Linked DNA regions of Homo sapiens: regions 2, 3, 4, 5, 6 and 7 are each linked to region 1. The links are contacts of gene promoters, found by promoter capture Hi-C in blood cells and fetal thymus (Javierre and others, 2016). All regions are on one chromosome and are shown on one strand. Each heading gives the region's core, a stretch centred on a gene start or on the middle of the fragment in contact. The rest is flanking DNA. Distances are from core to core; before and after follow the strand shown.

The links. The method cuts DNA at HindIII sites, captures the fragments that hold promoters and counts their contacts. A CHiCAGO score of 5 or more calls a contact.
Region 2: a fragment that was not itself captured here is called in contact with the fragment with the promoter of PEX5 in region 1 in 15 of 17 cell types (M0 macrophages, M2 macrophages, endothelial precursors and 12 more); the score reaches 13.5 in M0 macrophages.
Region 3: a fragment that was not itself captured here is called in contact with the fragment with the promoter of PEX5 in region 1 in 16 of 17 cell types (naive CD8 T cells, monocytes, M2 macrophages and 13 more); the score reaches 11.7 in naive CD8 T cells.
Region 4: a fragment that was not itself captured here is called in contact with the fragment with the promoter of PEX5 in region 1 in 3 of 17 cell types (M0 macrophages, M2 macrophages and erythroblasts); the score reaches 8.7 in M0 macrophages.
Region 5: a contact is called between a fragment that was not itself captured here and the fragment with the promoter of PEX5 in region 1, in 4 of 17 cell types (M0 macrophages, M1 macrophages, erythroblasts and 1 more). The highest score is 5.8, in M0 macrophages.
Region 6: a contact is called between a fragment that was not itself captured here and the fragment with the promoter of PEX5 in region 1, in 4 of 17 cell types (erythroblasts, M0 macrophages, M2 macrophages and 1 more). The highest score is 9.2, in erythroblasts.
Region 7: a contact is called between a fragment that was not itself captured here and the fragment with the promoter of PEX5 in region 1, in 5 of 17 cell types (erythroblasts, M2 macrophages, M0 macrophages and 2 more). The highest score is 9.9, in erythroblasts.

Annotation. Positions count from the first base shown.
Region 1 is chr12:7,187,098-7,191,390 of GRCh38, reverse strand. PEX5 (peroxisomal biogenesis factor 5) reads right to left here and starts at 1,705. Exons shown (of 16, transcript NM_001351132.2): 1 at 1,641-1,705; 2 at 867-1,029; 3 at 468-503; 4 at 33-165. The coding sequence starts at 1,013. RefSeq lists enhancers at 879-958, 416-1,131, 989-1,138, 1,132-1,848, 1,849-1,908 and 2 more and silencers at 1,329-1,738, 2,759-2,808. The HindIII fragment of the contact is 37,708 bases long and covers 1-4,293 here.
Region 2 is chr12:7,650,106-7,654,398 of GRCh38, reverse strand. APOBEC1 (apolipoprotein B mRNA editing enzyme catalytic subunit 1) reads left to right here. Exons shown (of 5, transcript NM_001644.5): 3 at 1,564-1,961; 4 at 3,258-3,376. Among named protein-coding and RNA genes, the nearest start is that of APOBEC1, 14 kb to the left of the region's middle. The HindIII fragment of the contact is 3,129 bases long and covers 447-3,575 here.
Region 3 is chr12:7,631,864-7,636,156 of GRCh38, reverse strand. No RefSeq gene overlaps it. Among named protein-coding and RNA genes, the nearest start is that of APOBEC1, 32 kb to the left of the region's middle. The HindIII fragment of the contact is 7,139 bases long and covers 1-4,293 here.
Region 4 is chr12:7,610,618-7,614,910 of GRCh38, reverse strand. No RefSeq gene overlaps it. Among named protein-coding and RNA genes, the nearest start is that of APOBEC1, 53 kb to the left of the region's middle. The HindIII fragment of the contact is 6,485 bases long and covers 1-4,293 here.
Region 5 is chr12:7,488,750-7,493,042 of GRCh38, reverse strand. The region is part of intron 6 of CD163 (CD163 molecule); the gene reads left to right. Among named protein-coding and RNA genes, the nearest start is that of CD163, 13 kb to the left of the region's middle. The HindIII fragment of the contact is 1,814 bases long and covers 1,370-3,183 here.
Region 6 is chr12:7,468,815-7,473,107 of GRCh38, reverse strand. It overlaps CD163 (CD163 molecule), which reads left to right. Exons shown (of 17, transcript NM_203416.4): 17 at 1,711-2,297. Among named protein-coding and RNA genes, the nearest start is that of CD163L1, 27 kb to the right of the region's middle. The HindIII fragment of the contact is 1,132 bases long and covers 1,212-2,343 here.
Region 7 is chr12:7,449,529-7,453,821 of GRCh38, reverse strand. No RefSeq gene overlaps it. Among named protein-coding and RNA genes, the nearest start is that of CD163L1, 7.5 kb to the right of the region's middle. The HindIII fragment of the contact is 5,120 bases long and covers 1-4,293 here.

The DNA of each region.
Region 1 (4,293 bases), core at 456-2,955:
CGATCTCCCCTCCCACTAGACTCTGGACTCACCTCTCTGGGGAGCCTGGCGGAAGTTTGACTGCTCAATCTGCTGCATCTCAGCCAGGAGGTCATCCATCTTGAAGGTCTGAGGGGCACGGGACACAAGGGGTGCATTCTGGTCCTGCAGGAATTCAGCCACCAACTGCCAGAAGGGAAATGATGAAATGAACCCATAGGCTTGGGAGGCCCCAGCAAGAGGCAGGACCCACTGGAGGGGGATCCCAATGTTAGATACAAGGAAAGGAAAACACAGAAACTGGAGACACATAAAGAGAAACTGTCTTTCCATAGATTTAGAAGGACGAAAAAATACATTTAAAAACAAGCAGGCATTCTCATTCGGTCAGGAAAGCCCAAAAATTGAAATACGGGTGAACTAAGTTTAAAGGTAAAAACACAGTGGGCAAGAGAAAAATGGGACAGAAAAGAGACTGGTCTATTTACCTCATCTTCAGAAGCTACTCCCAAAGGCTTGGAGGCCTAAGAGAGAAAGACAGAGATGTACAATGACGCAGTTCCTCTAAAATCAGGGGTTGATGAAGCCCATAGGCATCTGAGCCTCGGCTTCTTCATCTATAAAATGGTTGCATTTATTTAAAGGTGCACAGGGTTTTCTAGTGTTTATAAACGCTCAGTAAGTGGTAACTACTATGATTTGCAACACAATAGAGAAAGCAGTTATACCAAGATGTGCAAACAGCCCCTCCACCTCAGACCACCACCACCTGGGCTTTCCACCTCAAGAACACTCACTGCCTCAGAGGCTGCACCTGGGCTTTCCACCTCAAGAACACTCACTGCCTCAGAGGCTGCACCTGGGCTTTCCACCTCAAGAACACTCACTGCCTCAGAGGCCGGGGCTCCGGGGGGCCAGGGGCCAGGCCTCAATCCCTCCTGCCGAAGGGCCTTGTCCTGGGTGAAGTGCCCGGCGAGCTTCATGAGCGGGTTGGCACCCCCGCATTCGGCCTCCACCAGCTCCCGCATTGCCATGGTGACCGCCAGCTCTCTGATGGACACAGGAGGTTTGGAACTGAGGTACCCAAGCCAGACCCTTCTCACATCCACAACTCTGCCCGTATCTGAGGAAGGCACACAGGCGTCTGCCCCACACTGGCCGCCCTCCACCCCAGTGCTTTTGCTGCGACCCCCACCTCTGCCAGGAGTTCGAGGGAGGTCGGTACTCTCTCCTGCCGCCCCCCTCAAAGGCCACCGCTTCCAGCCTGCGCCTCTGCAGAGGCCTCCGCGACTACGGTCCCATGGGCTGGGGGCCAGCAGCTGCCTCCACAAAGGGGCCTGGACCCCGGGGGACCACGGGGACGCTTCAACAACCAGGCTGGACGGCGACACTGCCCGAAGAAGGGACAGTGGGAAAACAGCCCGACCATACCTAGCCCCGCGCAGCCCCAGCACGCGGTGAGCACGGCAGAGGAGCATTCCCTCCCCTTAAGTCACCGGAGCCCTTCCCCCGGCTCGGCCCGGTCCCTCCCGCGCTCCCCACCGCCCATCTCCCCGGCCCTGCTGCCGCTCCAGCCCCGCCCCTGGGACCCGCGAGGCCACCGCAAGGGTGGGGAGGGCCCAGGGACGCGGCCCCGGGCCCCCTCGGGGTCAGGCGCTCACCGCGGAGCGCCGCGCCGCACGACCCGCCGGGGCACCAGGTGCTGGCTTGGGGGAGGGGAGAAGAGGGGGCGGGGAGCCAGGGGGCGGGGCTCAGGCTTAAAGGGGCCGTGACCGCCCCGCAGCGGCCCAGGCCCAGCGGAAGCTGTCTGAAAAGGCGGGGCCTTAAGACTGCGACGCAGCCTGACGGGAAGAGCCGTGAGTCTTAAAGGGGAAGAGCACCTTAGAGAGCGGGTCTTGGAGAGTCGCCTTTAGGAGCGCTCGAAAAGGCCACGGGCCCTAGGATTTGTTTGACGGAAAGCTCAAAGAAGAGTGGAGCTAAGAAGGGCTTCCCAGGCTCTGGGGGAAAGCCGAAGACGCGAGATCCTAGGCTCAGTCGATCCTGCCTCTTCCCTTGGGCGCATTGTGACCTAAGGGGATTCAGTGCCCTTTCTGAGCCTCAGTTTTCCCCTCTAAAATGGGGCTGGCTAATGTTCCCAAGCCCAAGAAAGAGAAAAGCCCTAACACCAGGGGCTGGGGAGTCCAGTCCGAAGCCTTCTTCAGCCTCCTAGGCCTGCCCCGCTTCCAAATAACCCCTAGCGGGGTAGCGTCACTGTCTCCATGGAGACAGGGGCCCGCCCCCGCCTTAATCCCTCTCCACCTCTGCATAATGGGGAAAATAGCACTGCATGATGACAAATTCCGGAGACCAAAATAGGGTCCAACGCATCCTGAGACCTCGAGCTGGTAACGTACAGGGAAGGTGAACAGTGAGTCAGCCCTTCCTTCCGCTAAGTCAACATAGTGGCCTTATTCCCATCACTCCAGGCTGGGAAAGGACAAACATACAAGAAATGCTTTTAATCACGGAATAAGACTAAGCCTCAAGCCCCCTCATCTGCCAAAGAGTGTGCTCTGCTGTCAAACCTCAAAGTCATTGAGAAACAAACCCTGATAATCTCACCCAGCTTCAAGACCAAGGGAGTCCTAGTGTCATGGAGAAGAGCAAGGAGGGGCCCAGGGCTGCCGGTAAATGACCAAGGGCAATAATGCCAGACGAACAGAAGTACCATCCCAGCCCAGGGTGCATGAGCGGAGGCAGGCAGGCAGCAGGTGGCGCCATGGGCCGGGCTTGTTTCCTGGCTGTTCTGCAGATTTCAGAGGTGGAGGCCTCAGGGGGCCACAGGGAATGTCTGTGTAAACTCATCCCTGGGAAGACAGAGAAGCTGCTCTGACACCTCAGGGGAACAGAATGGCAGGGGACAGACCATAAGACTGTGCAACATTTCTCCTTTTCCTTGCCTTTTCGCCCTCTTTCAGAGGCCCCACTTCTACACCCCGTTTTCTTCCGGAGCACACAAATCCCAGCCCTTGGGCGTCCCCTGTTCTCAGGCTGCCATCGTGAGGAAAATACCTGATAAACTAAACCACACAAGGATGAAGAGATGCCCTCCAGAAGGTGCATACTTTTAAAAAGAGGACCCCCTAGAGAGAGCAATGTTTAAAGGAACCCATCTGATACAGTAGAATTTCAGAACCTCAAGGCAACCAGAGTTTCCCAGTACCACTTAAACATCACAACACACATAACCTTCTGCTCTGCTAGGAGTTTATCAACTGATTAGCCGTAACTCACTTTGTGTGCAGATCTTGGAAGAATGCTAATAATAATAACTGATGTTTACTAAAATCCAGGTGTTGTGTAAAACACTTTATGTATCTCAATGTTTTTAATCTTCTTAATACCCCTATTAAATAGATATTAGTAGACCCACTTTACAGATAAGACTTGTGCAAAATCAGATGGCTAGGAAGTCAAAATTTAATCCAGGCATAACTCTAGGCACCTACTTCCCAGTCTTAGAGAAGACTTACTGATAAACCATGGAGATCTTTGATCTCCTAGGCCATAGAATCATTCACAGAACTTGGTCCACAGTCCCAGCCAGAGGTGCTGGGAAAGGGCTAATAGAGTGACTTTGGTGTTTAATATTTAATTTACTGAAGCTCTAGATTTGAAACCCTAGATTTTGTTAATCCAGGTTCAACTTTAAATTCTTGTTCTATTCATAAAAGTAGTAATTTTTATAAAATAAAAATAATTTTTACTTATTCTTTAATGTTTGACGAATTCAAGTTCAATAGATGTTTAGACACACATTGCATTGACTGTGTGCCAGGCATTGTTTCAAGCACTTTTCAACTATTGATTTATTTAATCCTCCTAATAGTTATTAATAATAACTATTATCCCCCATTTTACAAAAGAGGAAACTGAGGCACAGAGAAGTTGAGTGACTTGCACAAGGTCATACTAATAAATAGCAGAGCTGGGATTTGAACCCAGACCACGGTCACCAAACTGTAAAGGGCTCAATGGTCAATATTTTTGGCTTTGTAGTCCATGCAGTCTCTGTCACAGTGACTCAACCCTGCTGTTGGAGCACAAAAGCAGACATAGGCCACACCTAAACAAATGAGCATGGCTGTATTCCAGTAATGCTTTTTATGGGGACTGAAATGTGAATTTTATATAATTTTCATGTTACAAAATATTCTTCTTCTTTTGATGTTTTTCCAACTATTTAAAAATGTCAAATACTTATTTGTTTTGAGACAGTCTTGTTCTGTCACCCAGGCCGGCATGCAGTGGCGCAATCTCGGCTCACTACAACCT
Region 2 (4,293 bases), core at 762-3,261, 460 kb before region 1:
CCCTGTCTCAAAAAAAAAAAAAAAAAGGAACTGTGGATATAGCTTTCTTTATTGTTCCTTTTCTCTTTTGCCATTTTCCATTCTTTCTTTCATTTTTGCCTTTTCCAGTTTCATTTTCTATGGTTATTGTTTTTTATATCTTTGCTCTTATGTCTTTTGATCTCTTTAAATAAATGATTTTCTAGCTTGCTTATCTGTTATTGTCTTACAATTTCTCTTCTTTTTTTAAATCGCATGCTTTTATAGCCATTAGTGAAATACCTGGGAAACTCATTTGTCACTTTAACTTCATCTTCGTTTTATAATGTCTGCCCATTTTTCAGACATAGGACAGGGAAGTCATGTTAAGGAATATATTATCTCTTGATAGGTGGAAGGATTGATCTATGTAGTAAATGAATGTGATACTTTAGGGATGAGTGGGAACTATTAGGATGTAATAAGCTTGTGACTTAACCATATTGCAAAGAAGAGTCTGCAGTTCAATTCTGAGTTTCCCTTGAGTTACAGCTTTCAGACATAGAGAGTGTTAAATCTAAAGACACCACTGAGAGCAAGTAGAATTTCTTTCTTATAGGAGTTAGTATATAGAATCCTAATGTGGAAGAATCTTGAGGCTAAATTGCTCTTTTGTCTGTTCTTGACAATACAATCTTGTTGGCAATTTGAGGCGTCAACACTTGAGAAAATCTGGTTAGAGTCCATTGAGGAATAGAAAAGATAAGGATTGGAACATAGCACCTCTAGGTGTAAAATAGAAAAGTTAGAATATAGCTAGGCATGGTGGGGCACACCTGTGGTCTCAGCTACTCAGGAGGCTGAGGCAGGAGAGTAGCTTGAGTCCAGGAAGGGGAGATCAGGCTGGCCAGCTTAGAGAGACCATGTCTTAAAAAAAAAAAAAAAAAAAAAGGGTTAGAATATAATGAAGGAAAATTTAAAAGAGAAACAAAGACACGCTTACACCTGAATTCAAGACTAAAACATAATGGTATTAGAGAGTGGTCACCAAATAATGTGACTGGGGGAAGAAACCTGTGCACTATGTTTGTGAGAAAAAAAAATCTGATAATTCAAACAGACCTCTTCAGATAACTTTGAGACATATACTAGAAAAAGAAGTTTCCTGAGATGTTATGTCTCAGATCAGCCTGATAGAAGAGGGGAGCAGAGGCTGGGCGTGGTGGCTCACGCCTGTAATCCCAGCACTTTGGGAGGCTGAGGTGGGCGAATCACAAGGTCAGGAGTTTGAGACCAGCCTGGCCAACATGGTGAAACCCCGTCTCTACTAAAAATACAAAAAAATTAGCTGGACATGGTGGCGGGAGCCTGTAATCCCAGCTACTTGGGAAGTTGAGGCAGAAAAATCGCTTGAACCTGGGAGGTGGAGGTTGTGGTGAGCTGAGATTGCACCACTGCACTCCAGTCTGGGCAACAGTGTGAGACTCCATCTTAAAAAAATAAAATAAAATAAAATAAAATAAAAAAAGAAGAGGGGAGCAGGAAAAGATTTCTAAGATCTCTCTAAATGTGGCATGACAGTGTGGGCTGCTTTTTGTATTTCAGGAGAAGAATCGAACCCTGGGAGTTTGACGTCTTCTATGACCCCAGAGAACTTCGTAAAGAGGCCTGTCTGCTCTACGAAATCAAGTGGGGCATGAGCCGGAAGATCTGGCGAAGCTCAGGCAAAAACACCACCAATCACGTGGAAGTTAATTTTATAAAAAAATTTACGTCAGAAAGAGATTTTCACCCATCCATGAGCTGCTCCATCACCTGGTTCTTGTCCTGGAGTCCCTGCTGGGAATGCTCCCAGGCTATTAGAGAGTTTCTGAGTCGGCACCCTGGTGTGACTCTAGTGATCTACGTAGCTCGGCTTTTTTGGCACATGGATCAACAAAATCGGCAAGGTCTCAGGGACCTTGTTAACAGTGGAGTAACTATTCAGATTATGAGAGCATCAGGTAAAAACAGTAAACAAAGAAACTTCATTGTTTACAACAGACTGTGGTGATAGTAGCTGTTTTTAGGCCAGAAGATTGGTTAGCCCAGGCTGGAAGTCTCAGAAGTAAAAGTCCAAAATAATGTCATAAAGGACTAGGTCTGAAATTCATGACAAGGAAAGTTACAAAAATACAACTCCTGGCTACGCATGGTGGCTCATGCCTATAATCCCAGAACTTTGGGAGGCCAAGGCAGGAGGATCACTTGAAGCCAGGGGTTCAAGATCAGCCTGGGCAACATAGTGAGACCCCATCTCTAAAAAAAATTTAAAAATCCGGCCAGGTGCGGTGGCTCACGCCTGTAATCCCAGCACTTTGGGAGGCCGAGGTGGGCGGATCATGAGATCAGGAGATGGAGACCATCCTGGCTAACACGGTGAAACCCCGTCTCTACTAAAAAATACAAAAAAATTAGCCAGGCGTGGTGGCGGGCGCCTGTAGTCCCAGCTACTCGGGAGGCTGAGGCAGGAGAATGGCGTGAACCCGGGAGGCGGAGCTTGCAGTGAGCCGAGATCGCGCCACTGCACTCCAGCCTGGGCGACAGAGCGAGACTCCGTCTCAAGATAAAATAAAATAAAATAAAATAAAAAATAAAATAAAAAAATCAGACAGGCATGGCAGCATACACCTTTAAAGGCTGAGGTAGGAAGATCTCCTGAGCCCAGAAGTTCAAGGCTGCAGTGAGCTATGATTGGACCACTGCACACTGGCCTAGGTGACAGAGCGAAACCCTGTATCAAAAAACAAAAACAAAAACAAACAACAACTCTTTTTTTTTTTTTTTTTTGAGACGGAGTCTTGCTCTTTCGCCCAGGCTGGAGTGCAGTGGTGCAATCTCGACTCACTGCAAGCTCCACCTGGGGTTCACGCCATTCTCCTGCCTCAGCCTCCCCAGTAGCTGGGACTACAGGCGCCCACCACCACGCCCGGCTAATTTTTTGTATTTTTAGTAGAGACGGGGTTTCACTGTGTTAGGCAGGATGGTCTCGATCTCCTGACCTGTGATCCACCCCCCTCGGCCTCCCAAAGTGCTGGGATTACAGGCGTGAGCCACCGCACCCAGCCAACAACTCTTTTCTCTAGTCTTGCCTCTCAGCCATCTTTAAATGAACTGCTTTATTCTTTTTAGGGGGTCTAATGTCCAGCAGCAACTAGACTAGAGACTACAGGCTTTCTATACGGGAAGCTAGGTTGGGGATCTTCTTAAGTAATTTACCATTGTGCTTGTTGAATGAGCCAAGATTTGTGTTTCCTTAGAGTATTATCACTGCTGGAGGAATTTTGTCAACTACCCACCTGGGGATGAAGCTCACTGGCCACAATACCCACCTCTGTGGATGATGTTGTACGCACTGGAGCTGCACTGCATAATTCTAGTAAGTCACTTTAGGGACACAAATGTTGATGCAAAAAGAAGCATCCTTCTTCAAAGGTCTTTCCTGAGAAAATTTGACTCATATCTTCTTTTTGACATTTATATTGAGATTTAGTTATTTAACTAGCTAGCTCCTCTTAAGAAAATCTCAGAGCCAGGTATGGTGGTGCACACTTGTAGTCCCAGCTACGCAGGAAGCTTGAGTCTAGGCGTTGCAAGCTGCAGTGAGCTATGATCACGCCAATATGCTCCAGCCTGCGTGGTATAACAAGATCCTGTTTCTAAAACACAGCTGGGTACAGTGGCTCATGCCTGTAATCCAAGCACTTTGGAAGGCCAAGATGGGAGGATTGCTTGAGACCAGGAGTCTGAGACCAGCCTGGCCAACATAATGAGACCCCCTCTCTATAAAAAAGAAAATTATGTATCAAACAAAGTAAACAAACAAGCAAACAAACAACATCTAAGCCTAAGAACAAGAAGTGTGTTTGTGGGAGGTAAGTGGAGAAGGGAATTTGGGTAAACCGATCTAAGATATGGGTGGTCCCCATATTAATTACATTTTATCATTTTTATTCTTATTTTATTATCATTATCTTTTAAGCCACAGGGTCTCGCTGTGTTGCCTAGGCTGGGGTGTAGCGGCTATTCACAGGCACCATCACAGCAACCCACAGCCTCAAACTCCGAATTCCTAGCCTCAAGCAATCCTCTGACCTCAGCCTTCTGGGTAGCTAGAACTACAGGCGTGTGTCATCATGTCTGGCTTTATCATTATTATTGTTCTTGTTACTACAACACATATTGGCTCTACTGTATTTCAGATATTCTCCTTTCTCTTATTAGTGTGTGTAATCTTATTGAAGAGAATGTACGTGTTCCATTGGATTCTCTTGAAAGTGGTTCAGGCTGGGTGCA
Region 3 (4,293 bases), core at 690-3,189, 440 kb before region 1:
AACATACCTTTCTTTTTTTTGAGACAGAGTCTCACTCTGTCACCCAGGCAGGAGTGCAATGACGCAATCTCGGCTCACTGCAACTTTCGCCTCCTGGGTTCAAAAGATTCTTGTGCCTCAGCCTCCCAAGTAGCTGGGGTTACAGGCACCCACCACCATGCCCAGCTAATTTTTGTATTTTTAGTAGAGACAGGGTTTCACCATGTTGGCCAGGCTGGTCTCGAACTCCTGACCTTGGGTGATCCACCTGCCTTGGCCTCCCAAAGTGCTGGGATTACAGGTGTGAGCCACCACACCCGGCCTGGACATTTCCTTTCTATTGATCCCAGCTCTTCAGATAAACTCAACCAACTGTCATACAGAAAATGTTTAAATTTACCTATAGCCTGGAAGCCCCTGCTTTGAGTTGTCCTGCCTTTCTGAACCAAACCAATGTATTTCTTAAATGTATTTGATGTGTCATGCCTTCCTAAAACATATAAAAGCAAGCTGTACCCCATCCATCCTGGGCACATGTTCTCAGGACCTCCTGAGGGCTGTGTCATGGGCCATGGTCACTCATATTTGGCTCAGAATAAATCTCTTCACATATTTTATAGAGTTTGACTATTTTCATCCATACTAGGAAATATGACTATTATCTCTACTGAAATAAAGATACAAGTGGTGAGAAGTAGTAAGATTTGGGATATATATTAAAGGTTTAGTTGACAGGATTTGTTGATGGAATAAATGTATGCTACAAAGGGAAAACTCATGACTTTTACATTTTTAGCAAGAACAACCAGATGAATGATACTGTCACTTAACTGAAATGAGGAACACAGGGCTAGGAGTGGTTTGAAAGTGAAGTCAAGAGTTCCATTTAATTATGTTAACTTTTAAAATGTTTATTAGACATACAAGTGGACAGTTATTCATGTCTGAATTTGATAGAAAAGGTAAAATCTGGGGATTAAAAAAATGGGCTTTACATATGCATTGTCTTAAAGTCACAGGAATGGTTGACCTTACTTAGACATGTGAATATGAATTGTGGACATAAGAAAATTGAAGACCAATCCACAGGATTTACCAACATCTGGAGATCAAGACAAAGACGAAGAAACAGCAAAGTTGGCTGAGTAGCAGTAGCCAATAAGATAAAAGATAAATCAGAAAACTTTTATCCCAGAAGCCAAGTGGAGAGAAAAGTGTTTTAAGAATGAAGATGGGGAAGATTCTAGGTAGGTGGTTTTAGTACAGTGCACTTTAAAAATCTCCATCTAGGGCAGCAAAACCAAGGAGCAATGAACAAAACCCATTTATAGCAAAACTAGATGGCAAAATTTCTCCATGAGCTTTCAGTTATGAGAAGATGATGACGAATTATCAGTAACTACACAACCCACAAAGTATCAGCATCTGTTTGGGAAGTTGGACAGGATCCAACTCACAGGAAAGTCTAATAGGGCCACAGTGCAATAAAGTATAAAGATGTTGGGTAAGTCTGGGCCCTATAGACTTTCTTTTTTTAAAAATTTTTAACCTTTTTTTTTTTGGAAATGGAGTCTCGCTCTCTCGCCCAGGCTAGAGTGCAGTGGCGCGATCTCCCCTCATTGCAAACTCCACCCCCCGTGTTCACGCCATTCTCCTGCCTCAGCCTCCCAAGTAGCTGGGACTACAAGCGCCCGCCACCACGCCCAGCTAATTTTTTGTATTTTTAGTAGAGATGGGGTTTCACCATGTTAGCCAGGATGGTCTCGATCTCCTGACCTCGTGATCCACCCGCCTTGGCCTCCCAAAGTGCTGGGATTACAGGCGTGTGCCACCGTGCTCAGCAAATTTTTTTAACTTTTTAGTTCAGGGGTACATGTGCATGTTTGTTACATGGGTAAACTTGTGTCATGGGGGTTTGCTGTACAGATCATTTCATCACCCAGATATTAAGCCTAGTACCCATTGTTATTTTTCCTGATCCTCTCTCTCCTCCTACCCTTCACCCTCCAACAGGCCTCAGTGTGTGTTGTTCCTTTCTATGTATACATGTGTTTTCATCATTAGCTCCCACTTATAAGTGAGAACACATGGTATTTGGTTTTCTGTTCCTGCATTAGTTTGCTAAGAATAATGGTCTCTAGCTCCAGCCATGTCCCTGAAAATGACATGATGTTTGAGCTAATGGATATCGCAATTACTTTGATTAGATGATTATATACTACATGCCCGTATCAGAATATTACATGTGCTCTATAAATATGCACAACTATTATGGATCAGTAAAAAATAAAAATAAACCAAGGCTGTCATTTTCAAGCTACAAAAGAAAAAAGGCGATTAGGTCCTACATATGTCCTTTTCCATGTCATCTAAGTCTAACTTGGCTTATAAGATCACAATCAATATCCTAAATGGGAATATGGGATTTTAAGAATTTTCTCTTAGCTTCTAATTTTCTTTAGCTTCTAATATTTCTGTAGATAATATGCCAGTATATTGAAAGTACATATATCACACAGGGGCAACAGTTATGTTTCCATGTAAGAATTTATTCCCCAAATAGTTATTCCACACTTACAATGTGCCAGCCTGGGGTATAAATTAGGAAGCAAATTAGACATATTTCCTATTATGAAGAGGTTACATTTACATATGAGTAGATATTAAAAGCAAATAAAAGGCAGTGTTGTTAAGGCCTAAGACGAGGTAAGAAAACCAAATAATGCCTCTTAACTTAGACTTGGAAGAGCAAGGATGCCCTCCTGCAGGGAATGACATCTCAAAGAATTAGGTCACTAGTAGAAGTTACGTAGCTGAAGAGTTGAATGAGGGCTGTTCTGATGAACATAGATGCCAAAGTCCTCAACAAAATATCAGCAAACTGAATCCAAAAGCACATCAAAAAGATTATTCATCACAGTTAAGTGGGCTTTATTCCAGGGATGCAAGGATGGTTCAACATATGCTAGTCAATTAATATGAGGCACCATATCAACAAAATGCAGAGCAAAAAACAATCATTTCAACTGATGCTGAAAAAGCATTTGATAAAATTCAACATCTTTTCATAATAAAAACCCTCGACCAATGAAACGTCAAAGGAATGTACCTCAAAATAATAAGAGCTATATATGACAAACCCACAAACATCATCATACTGAATGGGGGAAAGTTGAAAACATTTCCCCTAAAAACTGGAACAAGAAAAGGATGTCCACTCTCACCACTCCTATTCAACATAGTGCTGGACTCCTAACCAGAGCAATCAGGAAAGAGAAAGAAATAAAAGGGATCCAAATTGGAAAAGAGGAAATCAAATTATCTCCATTCACTGATGATAGGATCATATACCTAGAAAACCATAAAGACTCCTCCAAAAGACTCATAGACCTGATAACGACTTCAGTAAAGTTTCAGGATACAAAATCAGCATATAAAAATCAGTAGCATTTGTATACATCAATAATGTTCAATCTGAGAACCAAATCAAACTCAATCCCATTTACAATAGCCATGAAAAAATCATGTGCCAAGGAATACATTTATCCAAGGAGGTGAAACATCTCTACAAGGGGAACTACAAAACACTGGTGAAAGAAATTGTAGATGACACAAACAAAAAAACATTCCATAGTCATGGGTTGGAGGAATCCATATACTTAAAATGACCATATTGCCCAAAGCAATCTACAGTCAATGCATTTCCCATCAAATTACCAACTTCATTCCTCACGAACTTAGAAAAAACAATTCTAAAGTTCATATGGAACGAAAAAAGCCTGAATAGCCAAAGCAGTCCTAAGCAAAAAGAACAAATCCAGAGGCATTACATTACCTGACTTTAAATTATATCACAAGTCTATAGTAACTAAAGCAGCATGGTACTGGTACAGAAATAGACAATTAGATCAATGGAACAGAATAAGAGAACCCAGAAATAAAGCCAATACCTACAACCAACAAAGTTGATAAAAACAAATAATGCGGAAAGGACACTCTATTTAATAAATGGTGCTGGAAAATTGGATTGCCATATGCAGAAGAATGAAACTGGATCTCTATCCCTCACCATATTAAAAATTAACTCAAGATGGATTAAAGACCTAAATTAAATACCTAAAACCATAAAAAATCTAGAAGAAAACCTAGGAAAAAGTCTTCTGGACATCAACCTAGGCAAATATTTTATGAAAAAGGCTCCAAAAACGAATATAACAAAAACAAAAACAGGCACACGAGACTGAATTAAACTAAAATGCTTCTGCATAGCAAAAGAAATAACCTACAGAATGAGAGAAAATATTTGCAAATTAT
Region 4 (4,293 bases), core at 1,268-3,767, 420 kb before region 1:
TCCTTCCTTCCTTCCTTCCTTCCTTCCTCACTCTGTCACCCAGGACTAGAGTGCAGTGGTGTAATCTCGGCTCACTGCAACCTCTGCCTCCTGGGTTCAAGCAATTCTCCCACCTCAGCCTCCTGAGTACCTGGGATTACAGGCACCGGCCACCATGCCCGGCTACTTTTTGTATTTTTTGTAGAGATGGGGTTTCACCATGTTGGCCAGGCTTGTCTTCTTTGGTCTCTTGTCTTTATTCCCACATTTTCCCTCCTCGATCCACCAGGGATCGAGGGCGGTTACAAACATATGCATGCACGTATGTCTTTATAGTAGAACAATTTGTATTCCTTTGGGTACATACCCAATAATGGAATTGCTGGGTCAAATGGTAATTATGTGAGGAATGGTCAAACTGCTCTCCACAATGGGTAAAATGGTTTACATTCCCACCAGCAGTGCATAAATATTCCCTTTTTGCCTCAACCTCACCAGCATTTGTTACTTTTTTTTTTTTTAACTTTTTAATATAGCCACTCTGACTGGTGTGAGATGATATCTCATTGTGCTTTTGAGTTGCATTTCTCTAATGATTAGTGATGTTGAGCATTTTTTCATATGTTTGTTGGATGCATGAGTGTCTTATTTTGAAAAGTGACCGTTCATGTCCTTTGCCCACTTTTTAATGGGGTTGTTGGAATGTTAATTCATTTAAGTTCCTTGTAGATTGTAGATATTAGACCTTTGTCAGATACTTAGCTTGAAAATATTTCCTCCCATTCTGGAGGTTGTCTGTTTACTCTGTTGATAGTTTCTTTTGCTGTGCAGAAGCTCTTAGTTTAACTAGGTCCCATTTACCAATTCTTGTTTTTGTTGCAATTGCTTTCGTTCTTTGTCATGAAGTCTTTGCCAGGTCTTGTGTCCAGAATGGTATTACCTAGCTTATCTTCCAGGGTTTTTATAGTGTTTGGTTTTAGATTTAAGTCTTTAATCCACCTTGAGTTAATTTTTGTATATGATGTAAGGAAGGGGTCCAGCTTCAATCTTCTGCATATGGCTAGCCAGTTATCCCAACATCATTCATTGAATAGGGAGTCCTTTCCTTATTGCTTGCTTTTTTGGATTTTGTCAAAGATCAGATGATTGTAGGTGTGTGGTACTACTTCTGCACCCTCTATTCTGTTCCATTGGTCTATGTGTCTGTTTTTGTACCAGTACCATGCTGTTTTCATTACTTGTAAGGTAGTTTGAAGTCAGGTATTGTGATGCCTCCAGGTTTTTTTCTTTTTGTAAAATAAATAACTAAATAACTAAATAAATTTCTTTGGCTATTTGAGCTCTTTTTTGGTTCCATATGAATTTTAAAATAGCTTTTTTTTCTAATTCTGTAAAGAAAATGTTGATAGTTTGATAAAAGTAGCATTGAATCTATACATTGCTTTGGGCAGTATGGTCATTTCTCCAATATTGATTCTTTCTATTCATCAGCGTGGAATGTTTTCCCATTTGTGTCATCTCTGATTTATTTTATCAGTGTTTTGTAATTCTCATTGTAGATATCTCACCTCCCTGGTTAGCTATATTCCTAGGTATTTTATTCTTTTTGTGGCTTTTATGAATGGGATTGTGTTCCTGATTTGGCTCTCAAATTGACAGTTGTTGGTATATAGAAATGTTACTGATTTTTGCAAACTGATTTTGTATCCTGAAACTTTGCTGAAGTTGTGTATTAGATCTAGGAGCTTTTGGGCAGAGAATAGGGGTCTTCTAGGTATAGAATCACATCATCTGCAATCAGGGATAGTTTTACTTCCTCTCTTTCTATTTGGATGTCTTTTACTTCCTTCTCTTGCCTGACTGCTCTGGTTAAGACTTCCCTTATTATGTTGAATAGGAATGGTGAGAGAGGGCATTCTTTTCTTGCACTGGTTTTCAAGGGGAATGCTTCCAGCTTTTGCCCATTCAGTATGATGTTGTCTCTGAGTTTTTTACAGATGGCTCTTATTATTTTGAAGTCTATTCCTTCAATGACTAGGTTGTTGAGAATTTTTAACATGAAAGCATGTTGAATTTTATCAAAAACCTTATCTGCATCTATTGAGATGATCATGTGGTTTTTGGTTTTGGTTCTGTTTATGTGATGAATCACATTTATTGATTTATGTATGTTGAACCAAAGTTGCATTTCAGGGATAGGATAAAACGTACGTGTTCATATGGATTAGCTTTTTGATGTGTTGCTGGATTAGGTTTGCTAGAATTTTGTTGAGTATTTTGCATCTATTAGGTTGGTGCACAAGTAATTGCAGTTTTGGCTTTTCTTTTCCCTTTCTTTCTTTGTTTCCTTCCTTCCTTCCTTCCTTCCTTCCTTCCTTCCTTCCTTCCTTCCTTCCTTCCTTCCTTCCTTCCTTCCTTCTTTCTTTTTTGACATGGATTCTCTATCACCCAGGCTGGAGTCCAGTGGCACCATTTCGGCTCATTGCAACTTCCGCCTCCCAGGTTCAAGCGATTCTCCTGCCTCAGCCTCCTGAGTAGCTGCAACTACAGGTGTTCACCACTACACCTGGCTAATTTTTGTGTTTTTAGTAGAGATGGGGTTTTGTCATGTTGGCCAGGCTGGTCTCGAACTCCTGGACTCAAGTGATCTGCCTGCCTTGGCCTCCCAAAGTGCTGGGATTACAGGCATGAGCCACCACACTTGGCCACTTGGCCTTTATTTTCAATGGCAAAAACTGCAATTACTTTTGCACCAACCTTATATGTTCATTGAGGATATTGGCCAGAAACTTCCTTTTTGTTTGTGTGTCTCTGCCAGGTTTTGGTATTAGGATGATGCTGGCTTCGTAGAATGAGTTAGGAAAAAGTTTCTCCTCCTCAATTTTCTTGAATACTTTCTGAAGCAATGGCACAAGCTCTTTCTTGTACATCTGGCAGAATTTGGCTGTGAATTCATATAGTCCTGGGCTTTTTCTGGTTGGTAGGCTTTTTATTACTGATTCAATTTTGGAACTCATTATTGGTCTGTTCAGGGATTCAATCTCTTCCTGGTTCAATCTTGGGAGATTGTATGTTTCCAGGAATTTATCCATTTTTTCTAGGTTTTCTAGCTTGTGTGCATACAGATGTTTGTTATAGTCCCTGAGGGTTTTTTGTATTTCTGTGGGATCAGTGGTAATCCCATTTGTTATTTCTGGTTGTGTTTATTTGGATCTTCTCTCATTTTTACTTATTAGTATAGCCAGCAGTCTATCTTACTGATTCTTTCAATGATCCAGCTCCTGGATTCATTGATCTTTTGTATGGTTTTTCACATCTCAATCTCCTTTAGTTTAGCTCTGATTTTGGTTGTTTCTTGCCTTCTGCTAGCTTTGGGGTTAGTTTGCTCTTGTTTCTCTAGTTCCTCTAGTTGTGATGTTAGGTTGTTAACTTGTGATCTAACTTTTTGATGTGGGTGGTTGGTGATACAAACTTCCCTCTTAACGCTGATTTGGTTGTGTCCCAGAGATTCTTGTATGTTGTATGTTTTTCTAATTAATTTTTTTTTTTTTTTTTTTGAGATGGAGTCTCGCTCTGTTGCCAGGCTGGAGTGCAGTAGCACGATCTCAGCTCACTGCAACCTCTGACTCCCAGGTTCAAGCAATTCTCCTGCCTCAGTCTCCTACTCAGTAGCTGGAACTACAGGCATGCGCCACCACGCCCAGTTAATTTTTGTATTTTTAGTAGAGATGGGGTTTCACCATGTTGGCCACGATGGTCTCAATCTCTTGACTTCATGATCTGCCCGCCTCGGCCTCCCGAAGTGCTGGGATTACAGGCATGAACCACCACGCTCGGCCCTCTGATTAGTTTCAAAGAATTTCTTGATTTTTGCCTTAATTTTATTGTTTACCCAGAAATTGTTCTGGAGCTGATTGTTTAATTTCCATTTAATTGTATGGTTTTGAGTAATTTTGTTAGCATTGATTCTATTTTTGTTGGACTGTGGTTTGAAAGTATGGTTGGTATGAGTTTGGGTTTTTTTGGTATTTGCTGGGGTGTTTTATGTCCAATTGTGTGGTCAATTTTAGAATATGTGACATGCATAGATGAGAAGAATGTATATTCTGTTGTTTTTGGGTGGGGAATTCTGTAGATGTCTATCAGGTCCATTTTGTCAAGTGTTGAGTTAAGGTCCAAAATGTCTTTGTTAGTCTTCTGCCTCAATGATCTGTCTAACACTGTTAGTGGGGTGTTAAATTCTACCACTGTTATTGTGTAGTTATCTAAATCTTTTCACAGGTCTCTAAGAACTTGCTTTATTAATCTGGGTGC
Region 5 (4,293 bases), core at 1,027-3,526, 300 kb before region 1:
TCTGAAAGTAACTATAGTCCAAGAGCATATAAATATACTTTGATCTATGCTGTGACCAGCCCTTCTCTTTAATTATTGACCACTGCCTTAAGGCCGTTTGAAACTGTGGGTTTGGGAGGAAGGACAAGACCTAAATTCCGTCTTTGCCGGTAGACTCATTGCCTTTGTATCTGGAGTATCAATTTTATCTTCTGACAAGGCTACAGTTTTACCACCACCTCAATTTGGGGGGACAGGATACTTAGAGTTTTTTCTTCAATTCTTCAATTCCAAATTATAGGACTCTTGATTAACAATATACAACACCTGCAGGCAGACCATACCCCCTTATAAAATTGATATTTCTCCTCCCATTTCTGCTTGCATTCTGACTGCTTGTAGTCTGAATTCATCTTTCTTGTAAATGCTAAAAGTGGCAAGGAGAATCCACGTCATGCAAATATTCTGATTTTTTGTAGTTTTGTTTCTTGTACTTTGCCCAATAAATTCTGCATTTTTTAAGCATCAGTGAGCACACGGTTTTCTTTTCAAAGTGAGGCTTACCCAAATATTTTACCATGTGTAAGACTCCTTAGGTTTTTAGCCTCTCACACCTGAGTCATTAATGCATTCTGCCCATCAACTCCATTCAACCACACCCATATTTTAGGTTGCATTACTAGAATACCTTACTTATGGTAACATGTTCTAAATTATTCAGGATTCTATTCAGATGTGTATAATAGAAATCATGAATAACATAAATTTGCAACTTAAGGTGGGCTCCGTACTTCACAGAGCTGTATTTTTGTTTGCTATTTGCCATGTGCACTTTTTGTTTCCTTTTACAAACTCTTTTGTTATATTGCTGTAGGTTTTGGAAGTTCTTCTACTTATGTTGGGGGCCTTGGTTTTTAGCTTTTTACATGTTTTGTTAGTAATATAGTTTGTACTTTTGTTTCTTTATTTACTTGATACTTTCAATGATGACATACTGTCTCTGTCAATGATGATATGCTGTCTCTGTGCCTGCCAAATTCAAGCTACGAATTTGATCATCTGTTTAAATTGTTTAACTTTTATATAGTACAGGGCTATACAGCTTAAAAGAACCAGGAGAATTCAACTAAGCAGGAGAATTGGAAACAATTTAAGATAAATTGTTGACAGAAAAAGGTCTAGGAAATTTTGGCCACAAAATTACTTTGAATCTCAGACATTTTGTTTGTGATGTCTGTGTATGTACTGTAGAGGACATCTGACCTTAAGAAACAGTTCATTTGAGCTATGCTGTCTTTTAACTTAGGATGGAGAAATAATTCTGAGATTATGATGATCTATACTTCTTCAGAGTCTGAAAAGCATTAAATGTTGAAAATACATTAAAGCTTCTTTAAATCATAATTGTATATTTTATTTATCACTAAACAAAAGGAAGTAATTCTAGTTAATTATGTCTCTAATTATGTTAAAGCTCTTTGTAGATCTATTTATTTTTCTAGAAAAAGAAAGAAAAACAGATTCAGTTACTTATGCCAGGGGAAAACTGTAGTTGTTGATCAATGGTGCTAAATCCAGGTGCAAAAATTTACTTAATGGTTTTTATGTAAAAACACAGTCAGAGACTTAGCAGAAAAAAATCCATTAAAGGGATACATTTCCAATATTCTATCCATGTCTAAAGAGTAACGATATAAGCAAAGCGACCCATAGGATAGATTAACATGTTACTAGCAGATTCACGAAATAAAGGCTGAGGATGGAGTCTCCAAGTCACTTTCTGAGTTGGAGAATTTGTCCTCTGCCTTGACTCAAATATGTTAGTACAAAGAAAACAAGAGGATACTTATAGAAGGGACTTTTTCTCAATTGCTTAATGAGTTTTCACAATGGAAAAGAAAATATTTTTGTTTGTTTGTTTGTTTGTTTTTCACTGGTTTTCTTTTGGTTTATTTTGTTCAAGATGGGTCCAAATGAAAGAGTAAGAAGTTACAAGAAACCAGAATTTGGCTTGATCTAGGAGACTGCCTTTACTTAAAGATTTAGGGCTGTCCAAAAGAGGTTGGGATCATATGAATACTAGTTAATGATATCTTAGAGAAATTTCATGCTTGAATAAAGATTCAAAAAGAAGAAATGAAAGACCATCCCACTCAAGGGTCATTAATTATTTGTATTGTAGAGGTGTTATTTGCTTTAAACTCTGAGCTATGTTTAGAAAGCAACATGTTTTTCATTTCAAATTTGGATAGGAATTTGCTTTGCGCAGATTTAATGGATAATGGGTGAAATTTTGACATGTTGAGGTATTCTATATTGCTGTAGTACAGAACATGGTCATATTCGAAACATTTTCTAAGACATTTTTGTATCAGGTGAAAGGTTTATGAGAGATGAAAGGAAATCAGAGTATGTAGATTGGCAAGGGCTGATGGTGTATCTATATCATTGTGATAGTAACATCAAGAGATTACAAAAATTGTTGATATTTGATAGCAGGTATCTATAAAGGACTTAAGACCTTCAGAAGGTCTAATTTTCAACTGCATTTTCTTTATTTCTCTTAAAGAACAAGTTAAAAGAAATAGTTTGTATCTCTTAAGTACTTTATATTGCCTCTGAGTATTTTCAAAGAAACTCACTTATCTTGATGATTGTGTTTCTTAACTTGACAAAGAGCATCTTCATAATATAAATTCCATTTATTATTTCTGGTGTGTCTTTTCTTTATATTTTAAATTTCAGCTACAGTAAGTTACTTATAATTCTTCAATGACACCATGCATTTCGTGACCATATTCCTTAAAGATTGTTTCACACACTGTGTATTTGGCAAACTCCTCATCTTTTTTCAAGATCCAGTTTAGATCTATGTTATTCTCTCCCCCATAGTCTAAAACAGAGTGAATGACTCCTTTATTTGTTAGTTTTATGTCTAATACATATTTCTATTTTTGGGTTCATCACTATTAAAATATGTATATCTTGTAGTGAACTGTGTTCATGGAGGAGAAGGCTATTAGTGAGAAATTGAACAGCCTTGAAAAGAAGTAGCCTTTTCCTAGGTATATAAGGTAGGGAAATAAATTTTAAGTAGAGAGAAAAGTTTCTACAGAGGCACAGAAGCATGAAAATTACGGCATGCCCAAGCATCTTTAGGCTGGAGCATCAAATTAGGTTGATAAAGTAATAGATATTAAAGCTTTTAAGGTAACAGCATACTATTTTAAAGTGTACTAAAGAATTAGTGTTTATCACCTCTCCTTAATTTTAATAGCTGGACGAAATTAGGGAATCTATGAAAACTGTTTGTGCTGCAGTTTGCTCAGAAGAAAAATGGGAGTGGTAATAGGGCCTACCTCACAGGAATTACACAGTGAGCTATAAATACATGTTAGCTAATATGATTATGATTATTATTTTTAGTATTATCTATCTTCACTGACAGACTGAATTCTGTGGCGGCCTTTTTAACCCACCCATCATCAAATGCCTAAAATAGAGTCAGAGAACATTACAGGTTGTTACATTATAGGTCATTACATTGATACTTTTGGATTAATTATTGCATACATGATTATTACAGAAATTATAAGAAATTATGTAAGGGATCATTGCATACATTTTAAGGAAACGTTAAGTCATCTAAAGGAAAAACATCACATGAAAATATTTGAAATTTATTAATATATTTATAATCATGGCATAAATTTCTTGGAAAAAAGACTTTGAAGCAAGGAAACAATTTACGAAGCTATTGTAGAGGTCTGCATGACAGATGATGACAAATCACTTTATGGCAATAGCAACAAATATGCAGAAGAAGAAATATGCTGGAGGACCAACAGATATGGTGGTTTTCTACATGTTCAATGTATCATGAAAGTCAACATTCTAGGCTCTGGAATATACTGTCTGGCTTCAAATTCTGTTCTCTTACTAATTCTGTAGTAATTTCTTGTGTGACCTTAGCAAATTACTACACCTCACCTCTCTATGTTTCAGATTCCCTGTCTGTAAAATCAGAATGATATTAACAATTATCTCCTAAGGCAATTTTAAGGATTGAATGAAATAATGTTTGTTAAATGCTTATTGGAATGCCATATATGTAATATAATAGACGCTCACTTAATATTCACTGCTATCATTATTACCATTATTTGTGGTGAGATAAAGTGGGTCAATTTTAGGTGGTTCTAATTTGGCCTGTATATCATTAATTAAGTAAAGAATATAGTGGGCTTGTCATACAATAATTCATTCAACTTTGAATACTTTAAGCTCCACATGTCTAAGCAGATACGTTTGTGG
Region 6 (4,293 bases), core at 528-3,027, 280 kb before region 1:
GTACACCAATCAATCATAGGTTTGTTCTTTTCACATAGTCCCATATTTCTTGGAGGCTTTGTTTGTTCCTTTTCATTCTTTTTTCTCCAATCTTGTCTTCATTCCTTTTTTCAGTAAGTTGATCTTCAATTACTGTTATCCTTTCTTCCACTTGATCGATTTGGCTATTGATACTTGTGTATACTTCACGAAGTTCTCATGCTGTGTTTTTCAGCTCCATCAGGTCATTTGTGTTCTTCTCTAAACTGGTTATTCTAGTTAGCAGTTCCTGTAACCTTTAATCAGGTTCTTAGCCTCCTTGCATTGGGTTAGAACATGCTCCTTTAGCTCAGACAAGTTTGTTAGTATCCACCTTCTGAAGCCCACTTCTGTCAATTCATCAACCTCATTATCTGTCCAGTTTTGTGCCCTTGCTGGACAGGAGTTGTGATCAATTAAAGGAGAAGAGCCATTCTGGTTTTTGGAATTTTCAGCATTTATGCACTTGTTTTTCCTCATCTTCATCGATTTATCTACCTTTGATATTTGGAGCTGATGACCTTTGTTGGGGTTTTTGTGTAGGGGTCCTTTTTGTTGATGTTAATATTATTGATTTCTGTTTGTTAGTTTTTCTTATAACAGTCAGGCCCCTCTTCTGTAATTCTGCTGCAGTTTGATGGAGGTCCACTCCAGACCCTATTTGCCTGGGTATTACCAGCGAAGGCTGCAGAACAGCAAAGATTGCTGCCTTCTCATTCCTCTGGAAGTTTCGTCCCAGAGGGGTACTGGCCTGATGCCAGCCAGAGCTCTCTTGCATGAGGTGTCTGTTGACCCCTGCTTGGAGGTCTCTCCTAGTCACTAGGCATGGGGGTCAGGGACCCACTTGAGGAGGCAGTCTGTCCCTTAGCAGAGCTCGAGCGCTGTGCTGGGAGAATTCTCCTTGTCAGGATCTGCTGCTCTCTTCAGAGCCAGAAGACAGGAATGTTTAAGTGCGCTGAAGCTGCACCCACAGCCGCCCCATTCCCCCAGGTGCTCTGTCCCAGGGAGATGGGAGTTTTATCTATAAGCCCCTGAGGGGGGCTGCTGCCTTTCTTTCAGAGATGCCCTGCCCAGAGAGGAGGAATCTAGAGAGGCAATCTGGCCAACGGCCTCCTTGGCCTCCTTAGCGCTGTCACGGGAAAACCGTCTACTCAAGTCTCAGTGATGGCAGATGTCCCTCCCCCGACCAAGCTTGATTGTCCGAGTTCGACTTCAGACTGCAGTGCTAGCATCGAGAATTTCAAGTCAGTAGTTCGTGACTTGCTGCGCTTTGTGGGAGTGGGACCCGCTGAGTGAGACCACTTGGCTCCCTTGCTTCAGCCCCCTTTCCAGGGGAGTGAAAGGTTCTGTCTCCCTGGGGTTCTAGGCGCCACTCAGTTGGAAATGCAGAAATGACTCAGTTGGAAATGCAGAGACTTCTGCGTTGGTCTCACTGGGAGCTGCAGACTGGAGCTGTTCCTATTCAGCCATCTTGCCAGCTCCTATAAATGGCATTTCTTAATCTTACTGTATTTCCATGGAATAAAAGTAATTCTTATGCACACTGAAGTTAAAAAAAAATAGCATTTAAAATTTCTGCTCAGGAAAGTAGTATAATTTTTAACATAAGTGAGTTTCTCTTTGTGTTATAATGTAATGAATTCTTATACGCATATGGAGAGGAAAATGACATTTTTCTATTTATGGTTTTAGTTCAGCCTTTAAGATACCTTGATGAAGACCTGGACTATTGAATGGAGCAGAAATTCACCTCTCTCACTGACTATTACAGTTGCATTTTTATGGAGTTCTTCTTCTCCTAGGATTCCTAAGACTGCTGCTGAATTTATAAAAATTAAGTTTGTGAATGTGACTACTTAGTGGTGTATATGAGACTTTCAAGGGAATTAAATAAATAAATAAGAATGTTATTGATTTGAGTTTGCTTTAATTACTTGTCCTTAATTCTATTAATTTCTAAATGGGCTTCCTAATTTTTTGTAGAGTTTCCTAGATGTATTATAATGTGTTTTATTTGACAGTGTTTCAATTTGCATATACAGTACTGTATATTTTTTCTTATTTGGTTTGAATAATTTTCCTATTACCAAATAAAAATAAATTTATTTTTACTTTAGTTTTTCTAAGACAGGAAAAGTTAATGATATTGAAGGGTCTGTAAATAATATATGGCTAACTTTATAAGGCATGACTCACAACGATTCTTTAACTGCTTTTTGTTACTGTAATTCTGTTCACTAGAATAAAATGCAGAGCCACACCTGGTGAGGGCACAAAGACTCAGTGGTTTCGTTTCTCATTCCTCAGGACATTATAAGTAAAGCTTAAATACATACATAAACTATGTCTTTTCTATGTAAATATAATGGTTATAAAGTAAGTTTGTATATTACTAAAAGTTACTTATGATACATATTCACATAAAGAAAAGATAGCATTTAAAGTAGTACAACACTAAACTTAGGGCCTACTAACTTGCTAAATATCCTAGTTTTCTATGCAATTGATTTTTTTTTAATTTTAGTGGGTCCACTGTAAGTGTATATATATATGGGGTATATGAGATATTTTGATAAAGGCACACAATGTGTAATCATCACATCAGGGTAAATTAGGTATTCATCACCTCAAGCATTTATCCTTTCTTTGTGTTATTTATTTTTTAAATGACAAAATTTTACATATTTATCATGTTCAATATGATATTTTGAAATATGTATACATTGTGGAATGGCTAGATCAAGCTAATTGACATATGCATTACCTAACATACTTACTTTTTTCTGTGAGAACACTTAAAACCTCCTCTGAGTGATTTTCGAGAATACAATACCTTGTTATTAACTGTAGTCACCATGTTGTACAATAGATCTCTTAACTTTCTCCTCCTACCCAATGAAAATTTTGTATCCTTTGACCAACATCCTCTAGACACCTTCCTCCAGCTACTGGTAACCACCACTCTACTCTCTGTTTCTATAAGTTCAACTTTTTCACATTCCACTTATAAATGAGGTAATATGACATTTGTCTTTCTGTGCCTGGCTTATTTCACTTAACATAATGTCCTCTAGGATCATTTGTTTTGTTGCAAAGGACAGGATTTCCCTCTTTTTAAAGGCTAAATAGTATTCCATTGTGTATATGTACCACATTTTCTTCATTCATCCATCAGCGGACACTTAGGTTGATTCCATATGTGGGTTATTGTGACTAGTGCTACAATAAACATGAGCATGCAGATGTCTCTTCAACATGCTGATTTCCTTTACTTTGGAAATATAGACAGAAGTGGAATTGCTGAATCATATGGTAATTCTATTTTTAATTTTTAAGGCTGTCCTAATTTGCATTCTCACCACTAGTTTACAAGGGATCCCTTTTCCCCACAACCTCATCAATCCTCATCTTTCATGTTTTTGATTATAGCTATCTAATAGGTATAAGGTGAGGTGATACTGTGGTTTTAATTTGCCTTTTCCTGATGATTAGTGATGTTAAGGATTTTTTTTCATATACCTGTTTGACAGTTGTATGTTTTCCTTTGACAAATATCTGTTGTTCTGCCCATTTTTAATGAGGTTGTTTTCTCAATATTGGGTTGTTTGAGTTCTCTCTATATTTTGGATATTAACCCATTATCAGTATGATGTAAACTCATTCGTTTACGTTCATCTTTGTTGTCTGTGTTTTATTTCCAAAGAATCATTGTCATGAAATTTCCCGTGCCCCACCCTTTATTATTATTATTGTTGTACTTTAAGTTCTGGGATACACGTGCAGAACATGCAGTTTTGTTGCATAGGTATACATGTGCCATGGTAGTTTGCTGCACCTATCAACCCATCATCCAGGTTTTAAGCCCTGCAGGTTTTAAGGTATTTGTCCTAATGCTCTCCCTCTCCTTGCACCCAACTCCCCGACAGGCCCCAGTGTGTGATGTTGCTCTCCCTGTGTCCATGTGTTCTCATTGTTCAACTCCCACTTATAAGTGAGAACATGTGGTGTTTGGTTTTCTGTTCCTGTGTTAGTTTGCTAATAATGATGGTTTCCAGCTTCATCCATGTCCCTGCCAAGAACATAAACTCATTCTTTTTTATGGCTGCATAGTATTCCATGGTGTACATGTGCCACATTTTCTTTATCCAGTCTATCACTGATGGACATTTGGGTTGGTTCCAAGTCTTTGCTATTGTGAATAGTGCTGCAATAAATATACGTGTGCATGTGTGTTTATAGTGGAATGATTTATAATCATTTGGGTATATACCCAGT
Region 7 (4,293 bases), core at 1,041-3,540, 260 kb before region 1:
GATAGGGTCGAGGTGTCAGGTTCTTTTTAACAAATAGCTCTCACAGGAACTCATAGAGTAAGAACTTACTTAACCATTACCCCAGGGAGAGCATTCATTTATTCAAGAGGGATCTGCTGCCATGACCCAAACACTTCCTATTAGGCTGCAGCCCCAACACTGGGGATCAAATGCCAACATGAGACTTGGTGGAGATGAACAACCATATCCAAACTATATTAGTTTTTACTGGTGCTTTATGTTGTTTCTTGGCGATGCCGTGTTTGCCTGATCCTCGTGGCTGTGTTGGCGTCTGTGCATTTAAAGAGGTAGGGACTTATTGCAGTCTTTGGAGGTATGCTTTGTATTGGAAAGCCCTCTATCACTCAGCCCATCCAGAAATTATGGACAGCCCATTTGGCATGGTTCACAGAAAAGCATGCTACTGAAGTCTTCATGCAGGTAGGCCTGGGACCTTGGCCAGAAAGTGGGTGAGCCTGGTGTCAGGGTCCATGGGGTTGGGCCTGGAGCCTCGATCTACTTGGGTGTACCTTCTGATTGGGTCCATGGGAGTAAGCATAGATCCTGGGGCCATAGGCATTGGCTTGATGCTAGATGGGCCTCAATCCTGTAACTGCAGGTGTCAATCTGGAGACTTGGTCCATGGATGCTAGCTTGATGTCTCGGGCTGCATGAAAAGGCTGGGAGTCTGAGTCTTTGGGGAATGGCCTGGCACTGGGGTATATCTGAAGCCCAGGACTGCTGGGGTCAGCCTGGTACCAAGGCAGTCTGGAGCCTGAGGCCATTGGGGTAGGTCTGGTGGTATGGCAGGACCCAAGACTGAGTCCAACAAGCATGGTTGGAGCCTAGAGCTGTAGGATCTGGCCTGGCACCATTGTGGGCCTGGAACCCAGCCCATGGTTGCTACCCTGGAGTCTGGGGCCTTGGGCCTGCCCAGTGTTGGGTTTTGCTGGGGCAGGCTCAGTGTTGAAGTTCTAGGCAAAATCTGATGCTTACTTCCCTTTCCTTCCCTCACAGGGAGGGTATCTGTCTCCACATCATGCTTTCTGGGGTTGGGGCAGAGGATGTTGGTAATGTAAAACTGTCCTTCCTCTCCAATACATCTTTTCTTATTGCTGTGCTACACTATGTTCTATAATCTGTCACCTGGTTTTCTTAGCTTTTGTGAGTGTATTTTTGTGCATGAATAGTTATTCAAATGTTTCTATAGGGAGCCAGCGTTGGAAAGCTGTATTGTGCCGTCTTGCTGACATCCAGATGAAAGGTGAAAATTGATTTTTAATCCTTTCTTAGTATCCAGGTATTACAAACACGCTTCTCTGACATTTAAGTCTACAAAGCAACTCTCTTGTGGAAACATGCCATTTGGCACACTTTCTGTATTTTTGCACTTCTTCTCAATTTCAAATATATATTTGACATAGATTAACTAAATTACTTAGTCATTTATTCAACAAAACTTTTTGAGCACCTACTATTTGTCAGGTATTATGTATTAAATACCCAATTGTATTCCATACACTATGCATCCAGTCATATGCCAGGTACTATATATATGTGTGTGCAAATATGAACATATGTATACATCTTTGTAGAGTATATATACTGAGGAACTCTGCCTATATACTAATATAAATCTTTATGTACATGCTTCAAAGTAATATTTAATATAAATAAAGTCTTTACCTATATTTTAGATTTATTTTTACCAGAATTCTATATCAGACATTAATTGTTAAAATAGTTCCTATTAATACATTCCTGGATGGTTAAAAAATATTGTTGTGGTGCTTTCAGAATTTCCATTATTGTCTGACAGAATATTAGTAGTAACGTTCTCTCCCCTTCTTTTGTTGCTCAATATTTCCTCTTTATGGTGAAATCTCCACTCCATATAATAAGAGTTAACATTTACACGGTGCTCACTATGTGCTAGGGACTGTTTCAATGCTTTATATGAATTAAAAACTTAATACCCACAATAACTTTATGACGTAGGTACTTTTTTTTACCCATTTTAGATTTGGGGAAGCTAAAATACAGGGAGGTTAAATGACTTGCTTAAAAGCATGCAGCTAGTAATGACAGAGCTGAAATTTGAACCCAGGTGCTCTGGCTCAAGCGGCCACATTCCTCACCATCATGTTATATTGCTTTTCAAAACAAAATACAGTTTATATGGAGCCAAGACATTTCAATTTCCATTGTCTTATACCCACTTAAGCATAAATTTGTGAAACTGTTAGTCTTTGTAGGTAACCTGTTTACTTTGAGGAAACAAGGGCAAGCCTAGAATAAGGGCCACCTCCATACAGATAAGAAACAAATCTATATGAGCAAAATTGTCCTCTCAAGGTTTGCCTTTGTCTCTGTCTAGTCTCAATTTTTCTTATTTTTAATGTCTATATCACTTGGTCACTTCAGTCACCTAGTTAAAAAAATCACGTTCTTTGGAAAATGATGTACTTTAGAAATAAAAATGTTTATCTTTGCCACCTTAATAATTATTAGATTACTTTTCTTAATGACTCCTTTACAGAATTCTCTCCTTCTGTTGTCAACCCAATACAATTCATTCATTATTAATAATCTCTCTCTCTCTCTCTCTATTGTACGTTGTAATATAACAGTCCTAACATTTCTTGTTTAATTGGCTCCTAAGTAAGTTTGTGCATTTGTTATCATTATAAATGTATCTTTTTTCTTCCAATTTTAAACCGGATTATTACTAATGTAATGCAGATTTCTGTTTCTCTTGAAAATCAGGAGGTCTGAAAACATTGGGCCATCATTTCAACATGACAACGGTGAATTGGAGGTGAGTAACCTCTTCTTCCTTTCAACAGGACGTGCACTTGCCATTTTACCACATTCCGATCTCAACCCACTTCGTGCATTTACATTAGTTGCCTCGTCACTCTGGGCAAATGCATTTATTTAGGATTGGGTGAGTCATAGATACAGGTGTTAGCGTTACTTTGATGACACAGTATCATGTCTTCTGCTTGGTGCTGCTGTTGACTCTGTGACCTCACCAGCTCAATCTGTAAATATAAGCTCTCCTTCTTGGCCCGTGGGGCTTTCTGGGTTCTTATAGCTCTGTCTCTTTTCTGTAACCTGCCACTGTCCTCTCAGACCAAAAGCAAATGCTATGTCCTCCTACCTAGTCATACCCTCCATGGTCTTGCCCTTCTTGCCTAGTATGATCTCATGGTTATCTGACAAATAGGTAGCCCTAGAGTGGTTGTAAATATTTTTTGTCGTCTAAAACCTTGTTTGCATCTATGTTCTAGTTTTCGCTAAAGGTTTTCTAGTTAGAAAGAAAAGTTTTAAAGCCAAAATTTTAAAAAATATTTCTGGCCCTAGAATTCCTCACTTTTTCCTTACCATATTATTGCTTCTCCTGAATTTCTGCTACAGTATCTATAAGGAGACCACATAATCTATAGGGAAGAAAAAAGGAATTTGTCACTCACCACTGCAATTTATTATTTTTGGGATCATAGTGGACTATAAAAACTCCTAATAAATAAATCTAAAGAAAGACTATATTATAATTTAAGAAACTTATATACATATATTTATAAATATATAGCTGTGATTTATAATAACATCATAAATTATACAGATAGATTATGTTTGCATTTGAAGATGTAGGGTAGCTTGCTCATGTTCCTTCTTTCACCATATTTCCTCAAATATTTTATAAGAATACTTTTAAAAGATATATTTCTCACTTCTCTTTTAAATAAACTTTTTATATTGGAATAATTTAGATTTACAGAAAAGTTGTGAAGATAATAAAGAGAGTTTCCATTTACTGCTCATCCATTTTCAATTTCCCCTAATCTAATAATTATCATCTACTATCATCATGGAACATTTGTCAAAACTATGAAACCAGCATTGGTACATTATTGTTGTGGATTGAATTGTGTCCCCACAGAAGATATGTTCAGGTCCTAATCCCTTGTATCTATGAATGTGGCCTCAATCCGAAATAGGGTCTCTGCAAATGTAATCAGTTAAAATGAGGCTATACTGGATTAGAGTAAGCCCTAATCCAACAATGTGTCCTTACGAAAAGAGGAAAATTTGGACTTAGAAACACACAGGAAGGATGCTATATGATGGTGGAGGCAGAGATTGGAGTGATGAATCTTCAAACCAAGGAATGCTTATGATTGCCAGCAACAAGCAAAAGCTAGGAAGAGGCAAGGAAGGATCCTCCCTTAGAATCTTTGTAGGGACATGGCCTGCTGACATCTTGATTTCATTCTTGTCATTTCCAGA